Regions from separate parts of the Homo sapiens genome. Here all the other regions are linked to region 3. Evidence: promoter capture Hi-C in 16 types of primary human blood cells and fetal thymus (Javierre and others, 2016). All regions are on one chromosome and are shown on one strand. The core of a region is centred on a gene start or on the middle of the fragment in contact, and the rest is flanking DNA. Distances in the headings are between cores, read along the strand shown. Region 1 overlaps DNAJC27 (DnaJ heat shock protein family (Hsp40) member C27). Region 2 overlaps DNAJC27-AS1 (DNAJC27 antisense RNA 1). Region 3 holds the start of LINC01381 (long intergenic non-protein coding RNA 1381).

Region 1 (3,564 bases), core at 104-2,603, 240 kb after region 3:
GGCTTGCCTTCAGAGCCTTGAGTTAATAGACAACTGTTGATCTTTTAGGTTATCCTGTTAAATAGTGGTAGGAAATTTCATTGCCAATATTTCAAACATTTCAATAAGACATTTTGACTTTCAGAGGACTTTTGCTTTTTACCTCATACTTTAGCCTAAAATGTGAAAAAAAAAATAATTACATTTATGCTTGGGCTTAAGAACTCAGTGATGCGACTTCTTTCACAGCAGGGTACTGGGGTGATCGTTCCTATTCATGCCTAGTCATCTGCATTCTTTCCAGAGAAGAAGCTAAAGCAACTACTTGATTTATTTTCATCTGCTTACCAGCTCTAAGTAATCACCAAATGAATCTCATGACCATTCTCTTTTGTTTTTCCTTCCTTGGGCTTTTTCATTTTTCTTAAGGAGGTTTTTTGCTCTTTTCTGGTTTGGCCGTTTCACTTCTGCCTTAATCTTTATCATTTCCTTCTCTCTGCTTGCTTTAAGCTTATTTTGCTCTTTTTGTTTTAGATTCTTGAGGTGGGATCTTAGATTATTGATTTGAGACTTTTTCCTTTTTTAATAAATTCATTTAATGCTACATATTTCCCTCTCAGCACAACTGTGTGTCCCACAAATTCTGAGATGTTGTATTTTCATTTTCATTCAGTTCAATGTATTTCTTTAATTTCCCTTGAGACTTTCTGTTTGATGTATGAGTTATTTAGAAGTGTGTTATTCAGGCCGGGAGCAGTAGCTCACGTCTGTAATCCCAGCACTTTGGGAGGCCGAGAAGGGTGGATCACCTGAGGTCAGGAATTCGAGACCAGCCTGGCCAACATGGGGAAACCCTGTCTCTACTAAAAACACAAAAATCAGCCGGGTGTGGTGGCACATCCCTGTAATCCCAGCTTCCTGGGAGGCTGAGGTAGGAGAATCGCTTGAACAGGCGGAGGTTGCAGGGATCCAAAATCGTGCCACTTCACTCCAGCCTGGGTGAAAGAGTGAAACTCCATCTCAAAAAAGAGAGTGTGTTATTCAAAAACAAACAAACAAACAAAAAACACAAAAAAAAACAAAAGAAAAAAAGTATGTTGTTTAGTTTCCAAGTGTTAGGAGATTTTCCTGTTAATCCTTCTGTTACTGATTTCTAGTTTGATTCCATTGTGATCAGAGGCTGCCTCGGTGATGATGGCTGCTGACTGATGAGGGTGGTGGTTGATGTGGCAGTTTCTTAAAATAAGACAACAATAAAGTTTGGCACATTGATTGACTCTTCCTTTCATGAAAGATTTCTCTGTACCATGCAATGCTATTTGACAGCATTTTCACCCACATTAGAACTTCATTCAAAATTGGAGTCAATTCAGTTAAACTCTGCTGCTGCCTTATCAACTAAGTTTATGTAATACTCTAAATTCTTGCTTGTCATTTCAAGAATGTTCATAGCATCTTCACTAGGAGTAGATTCCATCTCAAGAAACCACTTTCTTTGCTCATTGATATGAAGCAACTCCTTATTTATTTTTTATCGTGAGACTGCAGTAATTCAGTCACATCTTCAGGCCCTACTTCTAATTCTAGTTCTCTTCCTATTTCCACCACATCTGCAGTTACTTCCTCCACTGATGTCTTGAACTCCCACAGAGTTATCTGTAAGGGTTGGAATCAACTTCCAAACTCTTGTTAAGGTTGATACTTTGACCTCTCCCCTGAATCACGAATGTTCTTAATGGCATCTAGAATGGCGAATGCTTTCTACAAGGTTTTCAATTTGCTTTGCCTAGAGTAATCACTATGGCAGCTGTAGCCTTGCAAAATGTATTTTTTAAACAGTAAGACTTCAAAGTCAAAATTATTCCTTGATCCATGGGTTGCAGAATGGATGTTGTGTTAGCAGGCATAATAAAAACAGCTTTAATCTCTTCGTATTTCTCCATCAGAACTCTTGGGTAATTAGGTGCATTGTGAATGAGCAGTAATATTTTGAAAGGAATCCTTTTTTCTGAGTAGTAGGTCTCAGTAGTGGGCTTAAAATATTCAGTAAACTATGCTTAAACAGATCTGCTGTCATCCAGACCTTGCTGTTCCATTTATAGAGCACAGGCAGAGTAGATTTAGCATAATTCTTAAGGGCCCTAGGATTTTCATTATGGCAAATGAGCATCAGCTCATATAGCCCGTAACAGCTCTGTCAGCCCGTAACAAGAGAGTCAGCCTGTCCTTTGAAGCTTTTGAAGCCAGGCATCGACTTTTCCTCTCTAGCCTTGAAAGTCCTAGATATCATCTTCTTCCATTAGATCTATCTATTCCAAGCCTGTTTCATCTGCATTGAAAATCTGTTGCTTTGATTAGCCACCTTCATCAATGATCTTAGCTAGATATTTTGAATAACTTGCAGCACTACATCAGCATGTGCTGCTTCATGTTGCCCTTTTATGTTACGAAGATGGCTTCTTTCCCTAAACCTCATGAACCAACAACTGCTAGCTTCTGACTTTTCCTCTGCAGCTTCCTCATCTCTCTCAGCCTTCATGGAAATGAAGAGAGTTAGAGACTTGCTGTGCATTAGGTTTTGGCTTAAGAGAAGGTTGTGGCTGGTTTGGACTTCTATCCAGACCACTAACGCTTTCTCCATATCAGCAATATGCTGTCTCACTTTCTTAGCATTCATGTGTTCACTAGATTAGCATTTTTAATTTCATTCAAGAAGTTTTCCTTTGCATTCATAACTTGGCTAGCTGTTTGGTACAAAAGGCCCAGCTTTTGGCCTATCTGTTTTTGAAATGCCTTCCTCACTAAGCTTAATCATTTAAAGGTTTTGATTTAAAATGAGAGATACATGACTCTTCCTTTTACTTGAACACTTAGAGGCCGTTGTATTGTTATTAATTGGCCTACTTTCAATATTGTTTTGTCTCAGGGAAGAGGAAGGCTCCAGGAGTGGGAGAGAGATGGGGCAACAGCCATTTGGTGGAACAGTCAGAATATAGACAACATTTATTAAGTTTGCTGTCTTAAATGACCTTATATGTTCATGGTATCCCAAAACACTTAAAATAGTAACAGATATCACTGATCACAGATGATCGTAACAGACATAATAATGATGAAAAGTTTGAAGTATTATAAGTGTTACCAAAATGTGACACACACATAAAGTGAACACACACTGTGGAAAAATGGCATCAATAGACTTGCTTGACTTAGGGTTGCCACAGATCTTCACTTTGTAAAAAAACACAATATGTACATACTGTGCAATAAAGTGAGGTGTGCCTATGTGCCTTACATAGGTGCAATAAAGTGAGGTGTGCCTGCATCTGCTAGGCCCTGTGGGTGACACAAGGGAGGATACATGAAGATGATGCATGTCTTCACATTTCTTCTAGTGTAGGAGGGAAGACAGCTGGATATGCTACTAACTGTAAAACTGGGCAGGAAGTGATGGCACTATGAAAGTACAAAACAGTATGGTACTCCAGGGGACATAGAGATTACATTCTGTTTTGCAGGAGTAGGGGGCTGGATGGTGAGGAATGGAACAGAGAAAGCTGCATGAAAGATACAGCATTATAGCCA
Region 2 (3,385 bases), core at 571-3,070, 220 kb after region 3:
TCCCTCCTCTGACCCCAGACCAGCTGGGACTACAAGTGCCTGCCACCACACTCAGATAATTTTTGTATTTTTTGGTGATTGTCTCATTATGTTGCCCAGGCTGGTCTTGAACTCCTGACCTCAAGCAATACACCAACCTCAGCCTCCCAAAGTGCTAGGATTACAGGTGTGAGCCATCGCACCCAGCCAATCCACAACTTTTTAATATATCTCTCCTGTATATTTACCCAAATTATTAAAGAGAGCTGGGTTAAAAAGTAGAGCCCTGTGCCATAGCTCTAAAGATTTCCCTCCTTTCTTTTCTTTCCTTTCCCTTCTCCCTCTCCTTCCCTCCCCTCCCCTTCCCTCTGCTACCCTTCCTTACCTTTCCCTTCCTTTCCCTACATTTTTATTAGGCAATTGGGTGCCATTAACTGCAATTAGATACGTAGGTGGAAACACTGGTTTGTGCCAAAATCTCCTCTCTATGAGGAGCCAGAGCAGTATGGCTGGAGAGTCTCAAGATCTAGAGAAGGGTGTTTTAGGCAGAGGTCTATATACAAAGGCCATGAGCTGCAAGTGAACTTGGCATTCAAAGAACAGAAGGAAGATAGCATTTGAGCACTACTAGTAATCTGCTAGGTACCCCAGGATATCTCCCAAGAAATTGGCAGCTTGCTCTGAGCTCAAATTTCTTGGCGGGGTTAATGACAATTTTCTACCTGTCCATATTACTGAATATCACTTGTTATGTGTTCCTTATTGCTACATTCCACTGCTTGTTGGCATCTTTGCTTCATTGTCTTGGCACTTTCAAGATGGCTCAATCCCATAGCTGGCAAGTTGGTGCTGATTGTCATATGGGAGCTCAGCTGTGGTTGTGGGTGTGAGTGGGGAGCTCGTTTCTCTCTCCATGGTCCTCTCCATGAAGAGCTGGAATCTTCACAGTTTGGTGGCTAGATTCCAAAAGTGAGCATTCCAAGAGAACCAGAAGGAAATTGCATTGCCTTTTATGACTTAGTTTTGGAGGTGGCATAACGTCACTAACACCATAGTTACAATTCCACCCAGATTCAAAGGAGAGGAACATAGACCTATGGAGAGGAGTCTCAATCCTACTGTAAGAATTTCATATGGGAACCTTGAAGACATTATGCTAAGTGAAGTAAGCCAGCCATTCTACTCGTATGAGGTGCCTGAAGTACTCAAATTAATAGAGACAAAAGTAGAATGATGGGTCCCATGGGCTGGGGGGAGGAGAGAATGGAGAGTTAGTGCTCAGTGGTATGGAATGTCAGTTTGGGAAGATGAAAAAGTTCTGGGAAAGATGGCAGTGATGGTTGCACAATGTGAATGTGCTTAATGCCACTGAGCTGTACATTTTTAAATGGTTAAAATGATACATTTTATGTTATGTGTATTTTGCCACTATATAAAAAAAGGTCATATGGAATGGGAAATGTTGTCACAGCCATTTTTGGAAAATACGAACTCCCACACACTTTTTGGGATAGTCTGTAGTAGGATGAATACATGGATATGAACATGGAAGCACAATATCCATGCTCACAGACTCCAAACTAAGACCCTCTACCCCTAATAAGGAAGGTCGGAAGGCTCAGCAGAGTCAGGGTTCTAAGGTTCTTACATTGCTTAGGAGAGACTCATCCCCATGCCAGGTGCTTCTCCAAGATTTCCACTCCCCTCTACCATTTGCCTGGTTTCTGTTACTCTTCAGAATCTCCCAGTAGTTTTTTCCTTCCTTTCCTCTCTTCCCTCCCTCCCTCCCTCTCCCCCCTCCCCCTCCTTCTTCTCTCTCTCTTTTTTTCTTTCTTGAGGAAGAGTCTCACTGTGTTACCCAGATTGGAGTGTGATGGCATGATCTCGGCTCATTGCAATCTCTGGCTCTTGGATTCAACCAATCCTCCCACCTCAGCCTCCCAAGTCGCTAGGAGTACAGGTGTGTACCATCAAACCCAGCTGATTTTTGTATTTTTAGTACAGATGGGGTTTTGTCATGTTGTGCAGGCTGGTCTCGAACTCCTGGCCTCAAGTGATCTGCCTGCCTTGGCCTCCCAAAGTGCTGGAATTACAGGCATGAGCTACCACGCCCAGCCCTGTTATTGTTTTTTAATCAGTGGGAGAATTATCTGAAAGGGTTTACACTACCATACTGGAAGCAGAACTCCTTAAAAAATTGAATTTGTAGTTAAAAACTTTCCCACAAAAACTTGGTCACTGAGAGGAATTACTACCAACTTTTCAGTATGTATATTAGTTTTCTATTGCTGCATAACAAATTACTGCAAATTCAACAGTTTCAAACAACAGACATTAAACATCTTGCAGTCCTGTAGGTCAGATGATAAGGCATACAGAGGCTGGGTTCTCTAGCCCAGAAATCTCACAAGGGGCCAGGATGGTGGCTCAGGCCTGTAATCCCAGCATTTTGGGAGGCTGTGGTGGGAGGCTCATTCGAGGCGAGGAATTTAAGACTAGCCTGGGCAACATAGTGAGAGCTTGCCTCTACAAAAAATAACTAGCCAGGCATGGTGCTACAGACCTGTAGTCGCAGCTACTCGGAAGACTGAGATAGGAGGATCACTTGAGCCCAGGAGGTCAAGGCTGCAGTGAGTTATGATTGTGCCACTGCATTCCAGCCTGGGCAACAGAGAGAGCCTATCTCAAAAAAAAAAAAAAAGTAGGCTGGGTGCAGTGGTTCACGCCTGTAATCCCAGCACTTTGGGAGGCTGAGGTGGGCAGATCGCTTGAGATCAGGAGTTCGAGACCATCCTGGCCAACGTGGTGAAACCCCATCTCTACTAAAAATACAAAATTAGCCGGGTGTGGTGACAGGCGCCTGTAATCCCAGCTACTCGGGAGACTGAGGCAGGAGAATCACTTGAACCTGGGAGCCAGAGGCTGCAATGAGCTGACATCGTGCCACTGCACTCCAGCCTGGGCAACAGAGCGAGACCCTGTCTCAGAAAAAAAAAGTCTCACAAGGCTGCAATGAAGGTAGCAGACAGCTGGGTTCTCATCAGAGCTCAGGAGCTCCTTCCAGGCTCATTCAGGTTTTTGGCAGAATTCAGTTACTTCTGGTTGTAGGACTGAGCTGCTCATTTTCTTGCTGTTGGCTGGGGGTTACTCTTAGCTCCAAGAGGCCACTCTTAGGTCCTTGCTAAGTATCCCCTTCCATCCTGGAGAACCTTCCTCCTATTGAATGCTTCTCACATTTTTAATATCTTTTGCCAGGAAAAGCCCTATCCTACTTAAGGACTCATCTGATTGGGTCAGGCCCATGGAGGATAATATCTTCAGCGTAAAAACAACTGATCTGGGAACTTAATTACCAAAATCCCTTTGTAGCAGCACCCAAATTCATGTTTGATTAACTAACTGGGAA
Region 3 (3,674 bases), core at 470-2,969:
CTACTAAAAATACAAAATTAGCCAGGTGTGGTGGCACACGCCTATAATCCCAGCTACTTAGGAGGCTGAGGCAGGAGAATTGCTTGAACCCGGGAGGTGGGGGTTGCAGTGAGCCGAGAGCGCACCATTGCACTCCAGCCTGGGCAACAAGAGTGAAACTCTGTCTCAAAAGAAAAAAAGAAAAAGAAAAAAAAACCCAGCTCTAGTAAAATTGTAATTTACAATTGTGATAACACTGTATAGAACAAAACACACAAGTATAAGTAACATTTGGGAAATCTGCATTAGATCAGCAGGTTACATCCCTGTCAATATGCTGGTTGTGATATTGTACTATAGTTCTGCAAGATGTTACCATTGGGGAAAACTGGGTAGAGGTGGGATCTCTGTATCATTTCTTTTTTTTTTTTTTTTTCTTGAGACGGAGTCTCACTCTGTCACCAGGCTGGAGTGCCGCGGCCCGATCTTGGCTCACTGTAACTTCTGCCTCCCGGGTTCAAGCGATTCTCCTGCCTCAGCCTCTCGAGTAGCTGGGACTACAGGCACATGCCACATGCCCGGCTAATTGTTGTATTTTTAGTAAAGACGGAGTTTCACCATGTTGGCCAGGATGGTCTCAATCTCTTGACCTCATGATCTGCCCGCCTCGGCCTCTCAAAGTGTTGGGATTACAGGCGTGAGCCACCGCGCCCGGCCTATATTTTCTTATAACTGCATGTGAATCTGCAAGTATCTATATAACATTTTCGATTAAAAGAAAAAGCAATTCTGAAGGAGTTGAGATCCATGAGAATTTACCATTTCATGTTAAACCATTTTTCATTAAGATTACATTATAAACATTTCCCCGTGTTTCTACAGACCTTGCAATAATCACTTACTGGCTACACGGCATTCCATCTAGTGGGTGTAAAACCGTTCCCTTAACCATTCTCCCTTGCTAGGTGGCGAGGTTGTTTTCAATTTTTAGCTCACACTAATAATGCCATAATGAACATGATTATGCCTAGGGCACGGTTATTCCTTTGAATTATTTCATTAGGATACATTCCCAGGGAGTGGGGTGCCTGGGCATAAGGTTCTGGACCTTTATGACTGTATTAGGTATTATTAATTTAATATTATATCCTTATTATTGCCCTTTCTAAGGTACAGATCGGCTTTTCCCCAAGTGAGCAAAAGTTCTCTGGCGCGCCTTTCAGCATTCAGATTTGTGGGGGAAAACCTAGGGGCCCCCCACTTGTTTCCGCCTGCACAGTGTCAGGCCAGAGATTTGAGTGGCAGAATGACAGAGGCAGCAGAGTGCAGCTAGAGGAGCTGTCACGGGCGTCACCCTCCCACGGGGCCCGGGCGGGCGTCCGGGGACCTCCTGGGACTCGGTGGCGCCGGCTACCTTCTCCCCAGAGCAGCAGAGGCCGTGAGGGGCCCTGCGGGGCCATGAGGGCGCGCGGCTTTCTTGAAAACAGAGCAGCCTCTGCTCACCCTGCAGGCGCTCTGGAGCTGCAGGAGGCCATTTCTAGAAGGCACCGGATTCGGCCTAATGCGGTGGCGAGGCCGCTGCGTCCCTCGGAGCCCGGTGGGGAGGCCCTGGGTGCCGCGCCCCAAGGCTCGCGGGCGATTGCCGCCCGTGAGGCGCCGCCGGGGAAGTCCGGAGCCCTGGCGTCCCCAAAGCCGTCCGCGGCTCTGCGTCCCAGTCCCGGGCGAGCGCCGCGCAGAGGCCCGAGGACCCCACGCCTGGGTGGGGAAGGCGCGGCCTCGCCATCTTGCTGGGCCACGGGCGCTCGGCGCAGGCGTGCGCGCTTGTGCAGTGTTCACCTCTTTTGGGATTTTATTCTCGTTTCATTTAATTTAACTCATTTAAAAAATTTTTTTTATTTTACTTTTTCTTTCATTTTAGTTTTGTTTTAAATTTTATTAATTTCATTAAATTTAAATTTTGTTAATTTAATTTTAATTTTAGGTGGTTTTTTTTTTCAGTTTGGATTGCCAGGTTAAATGTAGGAGGTCCAGTTAAATTCAAATTTCAGATAAGCAACAGATACATTTTTAGTATACATCTATCCTGTTTAGGATGTCCTATTTAGTATCAGAATGTCTCCAACGTTTTGTCCTGGTTTTTTGTTTGTTTGTTTGTTTGTTTTTTGCGACAAGGACTTGCTTTGTTGCCCAGGCTGGGGTGCAGTGGCACAATCATAGTTCACTGCAGCCTCCAACTCCTGGACTCAAGAGATCTTCCTGCCTCAGCCTCCAGAATAGATGTACACCACTACACTCAGCTAATGTTTGTATTTTTTGTAGAGCTGGGGGGCGTCTCGCTATTTTGCCCAAGCTGGTCTCGAACTCCTGGGCTCAAGTGATTCTCCTGCCTTGGTCTCCCAAAGTGCTGGGATTCCAGGCATGAGCCACCACTCCTGGCCTGGCCTGTATTTTTATTTGCTAAATCTGGCAACTCAATTTGTGGTAGAACCCCTTCTTTGGAGGACATCTGACTCAGAACCCTAATACCTACCCAATGACAGCGAGTGGTCTGTGTGAACTGGGGCCAGGACTAGGGGGTGCAGGAATGTGAGTGTCACCCAGTGTCTCCCAGACTGGCCTGAGGAACCCCCTGAGCAGAACCGAACCACTGAACCTCTCTTACAGGGGCTGAACTCCCCGAGGGCAAGACAGCAACAGCCGCACCAGGTAGACTCTGTACATTGGATTATTCCAGCCATGGCTGGCTCCTGTCCTCTCAAAAGTCCCTCACGGGCCGGGCACAGTGGCTCACGCCTGTACTTCCAGCACTTTGAGAGGCCTCACTTGAGGCCAGGAGTTCAAGACCAGCCTGCCCAACATGGCAAAACCCTGGCTAATACAAAAAATTAGCCAGGCATGGTGGCACACACCTGTAATCCCACCTACTTGGAGAGGCTGAGGCACAAGAATAGCTTGAACCTGGGAGGTGGAGGTTGCAGTGAACCAAGATCGTGCCACTGCACTCCAGCCTGGGCAACAGAGCGAGACTCTGTCTCAAAAAAAAAAAAAAAAAAAAAAAAATCCCTCAGGCCCATATCCTGTGAGCAACAAGCTCTGAAGGAGGGGCCCAGGTCTGCCACTATGGGATGTGGGCAAGTCACTGGCCTCAGTTTCTCCATCTGTGAAATGGGGCTGTTGTTTGGGCTGCTGGAGATAATCTATGTGAAAGTGCCTGGTGAACCTGGACACCCAGAGACTCTAAAGCATGCTTTTTACTGAGGCATAATTCACAAACAGTGACATTCCCCAATTTTAAGTATTGAACTCAGTGCATTTTGACTGATGTTTACAGTTGTGTGACCACCACAATTGCATATATATACATATACAAACATATATGTTGAAGAGTTGAAGGCCATAGCCCTTCTTTGAGGAATTCCGGGTCTGGTGGAGAAGCAGACCACGTGTACTTGACCACCACACACCTGTGTGAGCAGCAGCTCAGGAAGGAACACGGGGGCCAGCGAGGTATGCGGCCACTCTTCCGGCTGTAACGCCCTAGATAGAGCATTTAGTCTGGCCGCCTCTAACGCAGCCACATCAAGCCTTCAGTCCCACCCTTGCTGGGTCTGGAATACCCGGGCAAAGCCACATCCTCTTTCCTCTTTTATCTGGCAGAGGCTCATTCCTCTCCATGTTTCAAGGCCCAACTCAGA

What was found. Contacts are between HindIII fragments. The CHiCAGO score rates a contact against its expected background, and 5 or more counts as called.
Region 1: a fragment that was not itself captured here is called in contact with the fragment with the promoter of LINC01381 in region 3 in 1 of 17 cell types (M2 macrophages); the score reaches 5.0 in M2 macrophages.
Region 2: a contact is called between a fragment that was not itself captured here and the fragment with the promoter of LINC01381 in region 3, in 8 of 17 cell types (M2 macrophages, M1 macrophages, M0 macrophages and 5 more). The highest score is 13.6, in M2 macrophages.

The regions. Positions count from the first base shown.
Region 1 is chr2:24,959,716-24,963,279 of GRCh38, reverse strand. The region is part of intron 3 of DNAJC27 (DnaJ heat shock protein family (Hsp40) member C27); the gene reads left to right. Among named protein-coding and RNA genes, the nearest start is that of DNAJC27, 10 kb to the left of the region's middle. The HindIII fragment of the contact is 1,724 bases long and covers 492-2,215 here.
Region 2 is chr2:24,979,457-24,982,841 of GRCh38, reverse strand. All of the region lies in intron 1 of DNAJC27-AS1 (DNAJC27 antisense RNA 1), which reads right to left. Among named protein-coding and RNA genes, the nearest start is that of DNAJC27-AS1, 9.0 kb to the right of the region's middle. The HindIII fragment of the contact is 8,101 bases long and covers 1-3,385 here.
Region 3 is chr2:25,202,358-25,206,031 of GRCh38, reverse strand. LINC01381 (long intergenic non-protein coding RNA 1381) reads right to left here and starts at 1,719. Exons shown (of 2, transcript NR_132378.1): 1 at 1,483-1,719. RefSeq lists a silencer at 1,382-1,721. The HindIII fragment of the contact is 10,460 bases long and covers 1-3,674 here.